Regions from separate parts of the Homo sapiens genome. Here regions 1, 3 and 4 are each linked to region 2. Evidence: promoter capture Hi-C in human tissues and cell types (Jung and others, 2019). All regions are on one chromosome and are shown on one strand. Each heading gives the region's core, a stretch centred on a gene start or on the middle of the fragment in contact. The rest is flanking DNA. Distances are from core to core; before and after follow the strand shown.

Region 1 (2,700 bases), core at 58-2,557, 130 kb before region 2:
ATCTCCAAGCCCAGCCCTGCCACCAGTCAATCCACAGATGAGCGCCTACTGCATGCAGCCCTCCCTCCCTCCCTCTCTCCCTCCCTCCCTCTCTCCCTCCCTCTCTCTCTTTCTCCTTCTTTCTTTCCTTCTTTCTTGCTTTCTTTCTTTCTTTCTTTCTTTCTTTCCTTTCTTTTTTCTCTCTCTCTTTCTCTCTCTTTCTTTCTTTCTCTCTCTGTCTCTCTCTCTCTTTCTTTCTTTCTTTCTTTCTTCCTTTCTTTCAGACAGGGTCTCACTCTGTTGCCCAGGCTGGAGTGCAGTGGTGCCATCATAGCTCACTGCAGCCTCCAACGCCTACACTCAAGCATTCCTACTGCCTCAGCCTCCTAAGTAACTGGGATTACAGGTGCACACCACCACACTCAGCTAATTTTTTTATTTTTATTTTTTTAATAGAGACAGAGTTTCACTATGTTGCCCAGGCTGGTCTTGAACTCCCGGGCTCAAGTGATCCTCCTGCCTCAGCCTCCCAGAGTGCTGGGATTACAGGTGTTTGCCACCACGCCCAGCCTAACACCTGTTATGTGCAGTGCGCTCTCTTAGGGTTCTGCTGTCTCGAAGGTGGAGGAGTGATAACCCAGCTGCGGGATGATCCTGTCTGAGGGATGATGGCAGAAGTCAGGCGTGTTCTGAATGTCCTTTGAAGGAAAGATAAAAGGATTTGCTGCTGGACTGGATTTGGTGTGAGAAATGGGGAGAGACAGGAGTCCAGGACAAGGCCAGGCTCTTGGGTCTGGCAGCTGGTGAAATAAGAGTGCCGCTCCCTGAAGATGGCGTGCGGAATCTGAATAGGTTCAGAAGGTTGCAAAATCTTTCTGGGTATGTGCTATGAACTTCAAGGCCAATGTTTCTCTACATTTTGTAACCATAGTCTGAGTAAGAAATGCATTCTGGCCGGGTGCGGTGGCTCACACCTGTACTCCCAGCACTTTGGGAGGCCGAGGTGGGTGGATCACCTGAGGTTAGGAGTTCAAGACCAGCCTGGCCAACATGGTGAGACCCTGTCTCTACAAAAATACAAAAATTAGACAGGTGTGGTGGCGGGCGACTGTAATCCTAGCTACTCGGGAGGGTGAGGCAGGACAATTGTTTGAACCTGGGAGGCAGAGATTGCAGTGAGCTGAGATTGTGCCATTGCACTCCAGCCTGGGTGAGAGAGTAAGATTCCATCTAAAAAAAAAAAAAAAAGAAATGTATTTTACACAACAATCAATACACCTGAAAGTAGAATTTCTGCAGCAATGTTTACCCGTTGCTGTGTGCAGTGCACTCTGATGTTTTCTATTGAATTTCATTTTTTAAAAATTGTGCTGGTTGTGACTTTTATCCGTTGGTCATGATCTAAAAATTGAAAATTATCATTCTAGGTTCTACCTCTTCAAGACTTAGCTTGAGTTCTTTACTGCCCTGGAGAAGTCTGGGAGTGTGGCCGGGTGACCACGGGGCAGCCAGAGCCTGGCAGGGATGACTGGAAGGAGGGGAGCTAAGACTTTGCAGTGTTCCTCCAGGGATGATGATGTAATCATGGAAGGGCTCAAAGCCTTTCCCAAGGACAGGGTCAAGGCTACTAAGTCCAAGTAGCAGGGACAGGCACAGCCCGGCCAGTAAGGGTGTGTGGCCCGGGGCTGGTGCCTCCCTTACTCCCTGGTCCTGCAGAGGACGCCTGGGATCTGCAGCACTGTGGCAATGACATGTTGGGGAGAAGGGACCCTCGCAGGCTCCCAGACCTGCTTTGTGACTTACTGAGTGAGTGCCCGACCCCTGCCTCACCAGCCCTGGGCTTCAGAGCCTGAGAATGAAACCCGCCCTTCTTCCACCTCCTCTCCTGCCCATCTCCTTCCCTCCTTCCTCTTCCCAGCTGGTGCCACGAGGAGCTGGCGGACCTCCAAGAGAATTGGCCAAGAATGCAGCCTCTGGACAGTGACCTGGGTGAGAATCATCACAGTGGCTCACCCCGGACCCAGGAATTTCACTTAGTCCTTGTCATCATCCACCAATGCGGGACAGCTCGGCCCAGATTGTTCATGGCTCAAGACCCCCACCCCACCCCATTCTGCTTGGTTGGGCTGTGTTGTTTATTTTATTTAATGAATTAATTTATTTATTTGAAACAGAATCTTGCTCTGTTGCCCAGGCTGGAGTGCAATGGCACGATCTCAGTTCACTGCAACCTCTGTCTCCCGGGTTCAACTGATTCTCCTTGCCATGGTCCCCTAAGTAGCTAGGATTACAGGTGCCTGCCACCACACCCGGCTACTTTTCATGTTTTTAGTAGAGACAGGGTTTCATTGTGTTGGCTGGGCAGGTCTTGAACTCCTGACCTCAGCTGATCTGCCTGTCTCAGCCTCCCAAAGTGCTGGGATTACAGGCATGAGCCACCATGCCCGGCCGCACTGTGCTGTTTTTAAGCCTCTTGAATATCATCACCTCTCTTTGTTTACAGATGGGGAAACAGTTTACAGACGGGGAAACAGGCTCAGAGGGAAAAAATACCTTTTCAGGGTTTTCCAGGCAAAGAGTGGCAGAGCAGAGACCAACCTCCGCCTGGCCAAAGCCCTTCTCTGCTTCCTGTCCATTTGTGGGTGATCTGGTGGTTTCTCCTTTTCTTTCTTTCTCTCTCTCTCTCTTTCCTTTCTGACAGAGTCTTGCTTTGTCGCCCAG
Region 2 (2,700 bases), core at 174-2,673:
GACAGAAATCCATGTTGTCATGGGGCTGACATTCCAGCAGAGGAGACAACCAACAAGCAATAACTACAATTAGGAGTGAGAAATAAGAACAAAGCAGACAGAGTTTGGTAGTATGTGAGAGGGATGTTTGCTGCTTTCCTTAGGGTGAGCGAGGGAATTAGTTCACAGAGAAAGTGACATCTGTGTAAAGCCCTGAAAAAAGGGAGGGAGAGATAAGGATACCTGGGGGAAGAGTATGTTCCAGGCAGAGGAACAACCAGTGCAAAGACTGTGAGGTGAGAGCGCACCTGACAAGAGTTCAGGAACAGCATGAAGGCTGGAGTCCAGTGAATAAGATCCAGGAGGAGAGATGTCTGGCCGGGCGCAGTGGCTCACGCCTGCAATCCCAGCACTTTGGGAGGCCGAGGCAGGAGTATAGTTTGAGCCCAGGAGTTCGAGACCAGCCTGGCCAACACAACAAAACTCTCTCTTTAAAAATAAAAGAAAAAGGCCAGCTTGGTGGCTCACACGTGTAATCCCAGCACTCTGGGAGGCCGAGGCGGATAGATCACCTGAGGTCAGGAGTTCGACCTGGCCAACATGGTGAAACGCTGTCTCTACTAAAAATACAAAAAATTAGCTGGGTGTGGTGGTGGACGCCTGTAATTCCAGCTACTCAGGAGGCTGAGGCAGGAGAATCTCTTGAACCCGGGAGGCGGAGGTTGCAGTGAGCTGAGATCGCGCCATTGCACTCCAGCCTGGGCAACAAGAGCGAAACTCTATCTCAAGACAAATAAATAAGTAAAAATAAAATTTAAAAAAATTTTTAAAGAAGATGTCTGCTGTTTGTTTTCAATATTTTGACCAATTACTTCGTAAAAACTTATTTAAAAATTGAAGAGCAAACAGTCTCAGGTTCCCGGGCTCAGACAGACCAGCGTTCAAAACTCATTACCTTCTTTCTATGATGCTAAGCCAGCTATTTCACCCTCTGAACCTCTGTTTCTTTATCTGTAAAATGGGTATTAATGATATTATACCACAGGGTTGTATATGCAGCGAGAAAATGCAAGTAAAACACTTATCCCGGTGCCTGCCTCCTAGTAAGTGCTTAAGAACTGTTTCTGCCCATTAACTCATTACTTTCTCCCAGCCCCTAACTCCTTCTGGGGGGGAAGTTAGAAAATCGGTATCACACGAAAACAGTCATTTCCCCTTTAAGGACCTCAGTGGGCCGGGAGCCAGCCTTCCCGCACCTTTTCCAAAATTTCCAATCCCCGCTTGGCATTTTCTGCCCGAAGGTCTCCGATTGGACGCTCTGTACCAATCGGAGGCTGGAGCGGGCCCTGAGAGGCGCCCGACTCCGCCCCCGCACTGGCCCTGCCCACTGCCCGGTCAGCCTCGTTGCTATGGGGACTGGTGGGCGGTGAGGGGGGAAAGCCCCGGATGTTCGTTGGGGATTCAACATGGCGGCGGGAGTGTCCGCGGTGGTGGCGGTGCAAGAGAGCTGAGGGAGGCGCGAGGGCGCGGAGTTCCAGGTCGAGCAGTTAGGCCGCGAGCGACTGCGGCGCCGAGCCGGTAGGATAAGGGGTCCGGCCAGGGGCTTGCGGTGGGCCGGGCGCTGGCGGCGGGACGGCGTTTCCGCGAGGAGGGGGGCGGGGCCGCCGGGGTCAAAGGTCACTGGTGGAGGGAAGGGTCGCGTCCGAGGGGTCGGGGGTTAACGCAGACTGGAGGGAGTTGTAGTGGAGGTCGGAGATCAAACCAGCGAAGGGGGCGTGGCGAAGGGGAGTGCAAAGTTTGAAATTCGAAGTGGGGGCGCGTTCGAGGGGTTCTGGGCGAGTCTCAAAAAAGGCAGGGTCAAAGTTAATAATTTGAGGGAAGGCTGCCCCCACGAGGGTCAGAGGTCACAGCCCCAGGGGCGCCAGGTTGGAGGTTTAAAGCTGCCCCTAGCGGAGCAGATGAATGAGTTTTAGGTTCGGGGGCGTCTTTTAGGGGTTCAAAGCTGGGGCGTGCCTAGAAGGTACAAAGGTGAGAATCTGACAGCGGGGCAGCTGTTTCCCAGAGTCAAAAATTAAAACCCAAGGAGGGCGTATTGCGGGGGACGGGGGGGGGGGGGGGGGCCGGGTCAGAGATGCTTCCTGGTGACAGGAGAAGGGGGAACCCTCCCACAAATAATAATGGCAAACACTCATGAAACACTATGGGCTAGACCCTCTTTTTAACGCTTTACTTGTATGAGCTTATTCAGTCCTCACTATAGTCTTAGGGGGTCTTAACCTGGTATTAAGAGGTTAAGTGATTTGCACAAGGTCACCCGATGCATAAGTTGTGCGCTGGGATTCTAACTCCGGAGTTCTGGCCCAGAGCCCTGCTCTGGCCGACCGCCTCTCAAATCATCATAATGTCGGTTAATGTTTAATGAGGGCTCACACTGTGCTCCACGCCCTGTGTGCCCGGTCGTATTTCACTCCTGCTGCAATCTTGTGAAGTGAGTGCTCAAGATGAACCTACTTTACAGACGGGAAAAATGAGGCTCAGAAGCTTCTGCTGAAGGCAGAGTTAGAATCGAAGCTGGGCCTGGGTGATTCCAGGGCTCCTGCCCCTGGTCGCCACATTGTCCGCTGCCAGCCATTAGGTCTCTCCTGGAAGCAGGGGGCTGGGCAGGGCTGGGCCACTCCCTGGGCGGATCGGATTGTCTGCTTGGTTTCCTTGGAAGGGTGT
Region 3 (2,700 bases), core at 104-2,603, 130 kb after region 2:
GAGGTAAATATTTTTTAACAATTTGTCACTGTTCCTCCTTTTGTTTTCCTTTCTGTGAGCAATTTCACCCAAATTGGAACCATGCTGTATACAGTTTGGTAGCTGGCTTTTTATGTCTTACCATTATCTCTCATTTGCATTCTCCCACATCTTTAATTATAGCGTATCAGTTAGGGCCCAGCAGGAAACAGATGGCCCGTCAATTTAGGATAATTTGAGGTGGGGTTGATACCAGAAGCCTTTATAAAGCGATTGGATAGTAAAGGCAAATGACAAGAGCTAGTGCAAGCTCCTGGGGCCAGCATGGGTGAGGGGCCTCATCCACAGGCCTAAAGGAAGGGGAGAGGGTTGAGGGTGTGCATGTGGTTGCCTGACTTGGGGAGGAGAGAGTCACTTAGATTTGTGGAGGAAACAGATGAATTGTGGTGGCCCAGCACAGGGAGGAGCCCTGGGGAAAAAACACCTGACCTCCTCTCCCCTCTACCTGGGGCCCAGAGTAGGTTGGAGAAGCAGGGACAGTAGATAAGGAGGGGCAAACGGAAGACATCCCCCACCCCCACACCACTATTAGAGCTTCCATTCCAGCAGGATCATTTAATAACCAACCCCTGATTGGTAGGGTGGCAGGTTTTTCATTTCCTCAACAGTGTCTTTTGCAGAGCAGAGGTTGCTTTTTGTTTTTGTTTTTTTGGACATGGTCTCAGTCTGTAGCCCAAGCTGGAGCATAGTAGTGGCACAATCGCCACTCACTGCAGCCTCCATCACCCAGGCTCAAGCCATCCTCCCACCCCAGCCTCACAAGTAGCTGGGGCGCCAGCTACCTGTAGTAGGCACGTGCCACCAGGCCCAGCTAACTTTTCTTTTTTTCCCCAGAGATGCAGTCTCACTTTGTTGGCCAGGCTGGTATGTTTCCATTCCAACATTCTTGAGATGACAAAATTATAGAAATGGAGAGCAGATTAGTGGTTGACAGAGGTTAAGGAAGGGGTCGGATGGGAGAGGAGTGGACGTGGCTACTGAAAGGGCAACACAAGGGATCTTGTGGTATGGAGTGTTTTGTATCTTGTCTGTATCAATGTGATATGGTTAGGCTTTGGGTGCCCACCTAAATCTCATCTTGAATTGTAATCCCCAGGTGTTGAGGGACAGACCTGGTGGGAAGTGATTGGATCTGATCATGGGGGTGGTTCCCCCATGCTGTCCTTGTGATAGTGAGTGAGTTCTCACGAGATCTGATGGTGTTTTAAGTATTTGGAAGTTCCTCCTTCTTTCACTGTCTCTCTCTCCTGCCACCATGTAAGAGGTGCCTGCTTTCCCTTCCATCATAATTGTAAATTTCCTGAGGCCTCCCCAACCATGCAGAACTGCGAGTCAATTAAACCTCTTTCCTTTATAAATTACCCAGTCTCAGGTAGCATCTTCATAGCAGTATAAGAATGGACTAATACACAATGTCAATATTCTCTATGTGATATAATACCATGGTTTTCGCAAGATGTTACCATTGGGGGAAACTGGGTAAAGGGTACACAGTAACTCTTTGCATTCTTTTTTTTTTTTTTTTTTTTGCACGTTTCATTTGTTTATTGATTTCCGCCTGATTACTCCAGAAGGTAATTACTTAAGATGCTTAAGATGGGTGGGGGGGTGATTTCAGCATCGCCCACCTTCACCTGTGGGAAGACCTCCGAGCATGTACAGTAAGACACACAGTCATATCTTGGGGAGCTCTCTGCAGGTGAACTGCAGGCCCCCAGCCCCATGCTGGGTAAAGTAATGAAGCAACAGCCGCTTTCCTAAGCCCGAGTGACCCAAGCTACTTCTGCGCAGGTTGTGAAACAGGGTTTAGGTTTCTCCCCTCTTGGACAAGAGGCCAGGGGTCTGCCCCATCAGCCTGCTTTCCTGGTGGGTCACGGACCATCATCACCTGGCTGGTCTGGAAGGGTTTAACCACAGCGGATCATGTGGCGACCAGAGCCGGGGCAGCTGTCAAGGGCAGCCTCCATTTCCATTCTGTCTCGTAAGCAGCCTGGGAGATGTGGGCCTAAGCTTTGGTGAGGATGAGAGTCTGTCTTGAAATTGGGCCCCACAGGGGTGAGTCCAGAGGCAGGACCGGGAAGGAAAGGTCGAAGGTCGGGCGTAACATCATTCAAAGACCAGCCACGCCCAGACCACACCCCTGAGATGCCTTATCAGGTGAGCAGGAGGCTAAGTCAGCCGACAGTGTGGCCACACAGCCCAAGCCTGTCCTAGCAGAAGGCAGGAACCATCAGCAAATAAGTGACTTTTCCAAGAAACAAGATCTTGTTCAGAGCTGCGGCCTTGGGAGCCTTGATGTTTCAGCCATTGTGCCCTGCCTTCCTGTCTCAATGTCCAGGTCTCGAATTCCATGGTAGAATGGCCAGTGTGTGGCCTTAGTGCCGTGGCCATCTGGGGTCGGTGTGGGCTGCCCGCCTAGTGCGCCTGGGAAGCAGAAGTTTCTTTGCCTTTAGGGACAAACTTCAGCGAGCTGCTGAATATTCATTCAGAATCGGGACTGCCGCAGCTTGGGGCCATCGTTCAGGAACTTGTGGCTCAACGTGTTGCCACACTTGCACGAGACACCTTCAAGACTTCAGGATGATTGTGCTCTGGGCGCTTGGCCACGCTGTCAGAACGGATGGTCTTGGTGAACACCGGCCAGGGGAATGAGTATGTGTA
Region 4 (2,700 bases), core at 104-2,603, 190 kb before region 2:
TAAAAGCACAATCATCATTGAAATCACAGAGCCTCCAAGTGTTTTTATCCATTTGAATGGGTTACTAGCTGCTAATCTGTCTGCAGCTCCTTCAAGCACTCCAGTTCCTGGCATTAAGTTCACGTGTGCCTGGGATACTTTAAATATTTGTTCTTTCAATTTTGCAATATCCAAATACAAGTTTGTAGAGTGGCCTTCTAGATGCTTTTTTATTCTTTCCCAAATTTTGATTTTATTAAGAGCTATTAACAGTTTCCACAAATGCTTATGTTTAGCTCCTAGAGCAGGCCATATCATTTGAGGCTGAGGTGCCACTATACTGCCATGGTTCCAGATAATAGGAACTCTTGCTGTATTTCTTACCATTTCTATCATCTGACCATTTTGTTCAGATGAGCTGATCACAGTGTGGCCATGGCATGCAGACTGAGAGGTGCAGTTCAAGCTAAACATCCCCATAGGTGACCAATTAATAATGATTCCATAGGAATTGTTGTGCAGCACCTCTGCCTGTTCTGCAAAGCAATCTTCCTAAACAAGTACGTTCATTTTTGCTAACTGGGTCCAATCCTGTTTACAAATATGTTTTTGAGGGCAGTATGCCTCAATTATAGGAGCAGATTTATTATGAGATCAGAAAGCTTGTATAACTGTGTCATAGAGTGATTACATCCAGGCATTATTGCCAGCCAAGATTGATAAATATGCCCAATAAGTATAATTGTCCTCTGTGTCAGCCCTTATTGAAGGAATACTCATGGCAGTGGTGATCATCGCTATCATAGCTACCATTAAATTACTCATTGCGACTGGTTGTCCCACTTTCCTCAGGTTTTCTTCCACCATCTGTGACAGCTTCTTGATCTGTCTCCAGGTGGGTGGCTGTGTTTGACAGGTGTTGCTCGTGACAGTTGGGGTCTTCCTCAGCGTCAGTCTCGACATGGCTGCAACCGGGGGTGGGGGGGGTCCTCAGTTTCCTCCCGGAATCTCTTCCTCAGCATCTGGCTCATGATAAGGTTTCAGGTGTCTTGATGGTATCCAAATCGGCTGTTGAGTCAGTCCTGGAGAAACACAAGCATAACCTCTACCCCAAGTTATTATTTTACCTATTTCCTAACTTTTTGTTATTGGATCTCTCCACCAAACTAGTTGTTCTGCTTCTGTCTTTGCAGCTGGTTTCTGTAGATGCTGTTCAGCTACTGATAGGATCTGGCCTTTAGGCAGGCTCAAAAAATTTAAAGTTAACAATGCTAGATTCAGTTGCATATGGGGTGTCCCGTAGTCCTTGTTTTCCCCCCTTTTTTTTGCTTTTGCAACTGCTGTTTCAGGGAGAGATTCATTCTTTCCACTATGGCTTGTCCTTGAGAATTATATGGGATACCAGTAATGTGTTTAATATTCCGTATAGAGAAAAATGTAGCTAGAGCTCGGCTAGTGTAGCCTGGGGCTTTATCTGTTTTAATAGAAGCTGGAATGCCCATCACTGCAAAACACTGCAAAAGGTGACGCCTGGAAGAGGTGTATGAGCCCTAATGTGAGTGATGTAAAAAGGGTGCATTCTACTCCTAACTGCTGTTTGCAGTTGGGTAAATAAAATCATCAGTTGTTCATCTGCAGGAAATTGTAACTGAGCATTTTCAGTTAATTGTGTGGAATGAATCACGTATGAAGAGTCAGAAATCACATTAATAGGCATATGAAAAGCAGTCACTACCTCAATTACAGCTACAGGCTCCACTTTTTGAGCTGAAGTATAGGGCATCTGAAAAACTTTACTTTTTGAGCCAGAATAAGAAGCTTTACCATTACTAGACCCATCTGTAAAAACATTTTCAGCACCTTCAATTGGTTTAAATTTAGTTATTTTAGGGAGAATCCAATTAGTTAATTTCAAAAATTAAAACAGTTTTGTTTAGGAAAATGGTTATCGAGAATACCCACAAAGTCAGCTTAATTGGTTTGCCAAGTAAGACTATTTATAAAAGCTTGCTGTATTTGTGCCTTTGTGAGAGGGATAATAATTTTTCCAGGATCATATCCATGTAATTTAACAATCCGAGTTCTCCCATTTCCTATCATAGTAGCAATTTGATCCAAATAAGGAGTTAGAGTCCGTGAATTAGTATGTGGAAGAAAAAGCCACTCTACAAGATCTCACTCTTGAACAATAACACCAGTAGGTGAATGCTGAGTTGGAAAAATTAGCAAATCTAGAGTCTTCTCTGGATCTAATCTATTTATTTGAGCTTTATGGACTTGCTTTTCGATTAGCCGCAGCTCTGCCTCAGCTTCTCTTGTTAATTACCGAGGGCTTGTGAGACCAGGATCTCCTCTAAGGATAGAAAATAGATTACTCATGGCATAGGTAGGAATGCCTAGAGCAGGTCGTATCCAATTAATGTCCCCTAGTAATTTTTGAAAGTCCTTTAATGTTTTCAATTGATTCCTATGTATGGTTGCTTTCTGTGGCACAATGGTAGTGTCATTTACTAAGGTCCCCAAGTAGGAGTAAGGAGTAGTAGTCTGAATTTTGTCAGGAGCTATAATTAAACCAGCGCAAGAAATCGAATTTTGTAAGTGATCATAACATTGGAGTAATACTTCTCGAGTGGGGGCAGCACAAAGTATATCATCCATATAATGAATAATGTAACACTGTGAAAACTTTTAACGAGTAGGTTCAATTGCTTGCCCTACATA

The links. Contacts are between HindIII fragments. The study calls those that stand out against the background at their distance.
Region 1: a fragment that was not itself captured here is called in contact with the fragment with the promoter of PAK4 in region 2 in 1 of the 25 tissues and cell types used here (IMR-90 fibroblasts).
Region 3: a fragment that was not itself captured here is called in contact with the fragment with the promoter of PAK4 in region 2 in 7 of the 25 tissues and cell types used here (H1 embryonic stem cells, IMR-90 fibroblasts, bladder and 4 more).
Region 4: a fragment that was not itself captured here is called in contact with the fragment with the promoter of PAK4 in region 2 in 1 of the 25 tissues and cell types used here (dorsolateral prefrontal cortex).

Annotation. Positions count from the first base shown.
Region 1 is chr19:38,989,553-38,992,252 of GRCh38, forward strand. No RefSeq gene overlaps it. Among named protein-coding and RNA genes, the nearest start is that of FBXO17, 15 kb to the left of the region's middle. The HindIII fragment of the contact is 7,056 bases long and covers 1-2,700 here.
Region 2 is chr19:39,124,363-39,127,062 of GRCh38, forward strand. It overlaps PAK4 (p21 (RAC1) activated kinase 4), which reads left to right and starts at 1,424. Exons shown (of 10, transcript NM_005884.5): 1 at 1,424-1,557. The HindIII fragment of the contact is 13,366 bases long and covers 1-2,700 here.
Region 3 is chr19:39,252,462-39,255,161 of GRCh38, forward strand. It overlaps the pseudogene MSRB1P1. Among named protein-coding and RNA genes, the nearest start is that of IFNL3, 8.8 kb to the left of the region's middle. The HindIII fragment of the contact is 6,715 bases long and covers 1-2,700 here.
Region 4 is chr19:38,935,792-38,938,491 of GRCh38, forward strand. LOC124904713 (a long non-coding RNA gene) reads right to left here. Exons shown (of 2, transcript XR_007067253.1): 2 at 1-1,061. Among named protein-coding and RNA genes, the nearest start is that of MRPS12, 6.2 kb to the left of the region's middle. The HindIII fragment of the contact is 4,061 bases long and covers 1-2,700 here.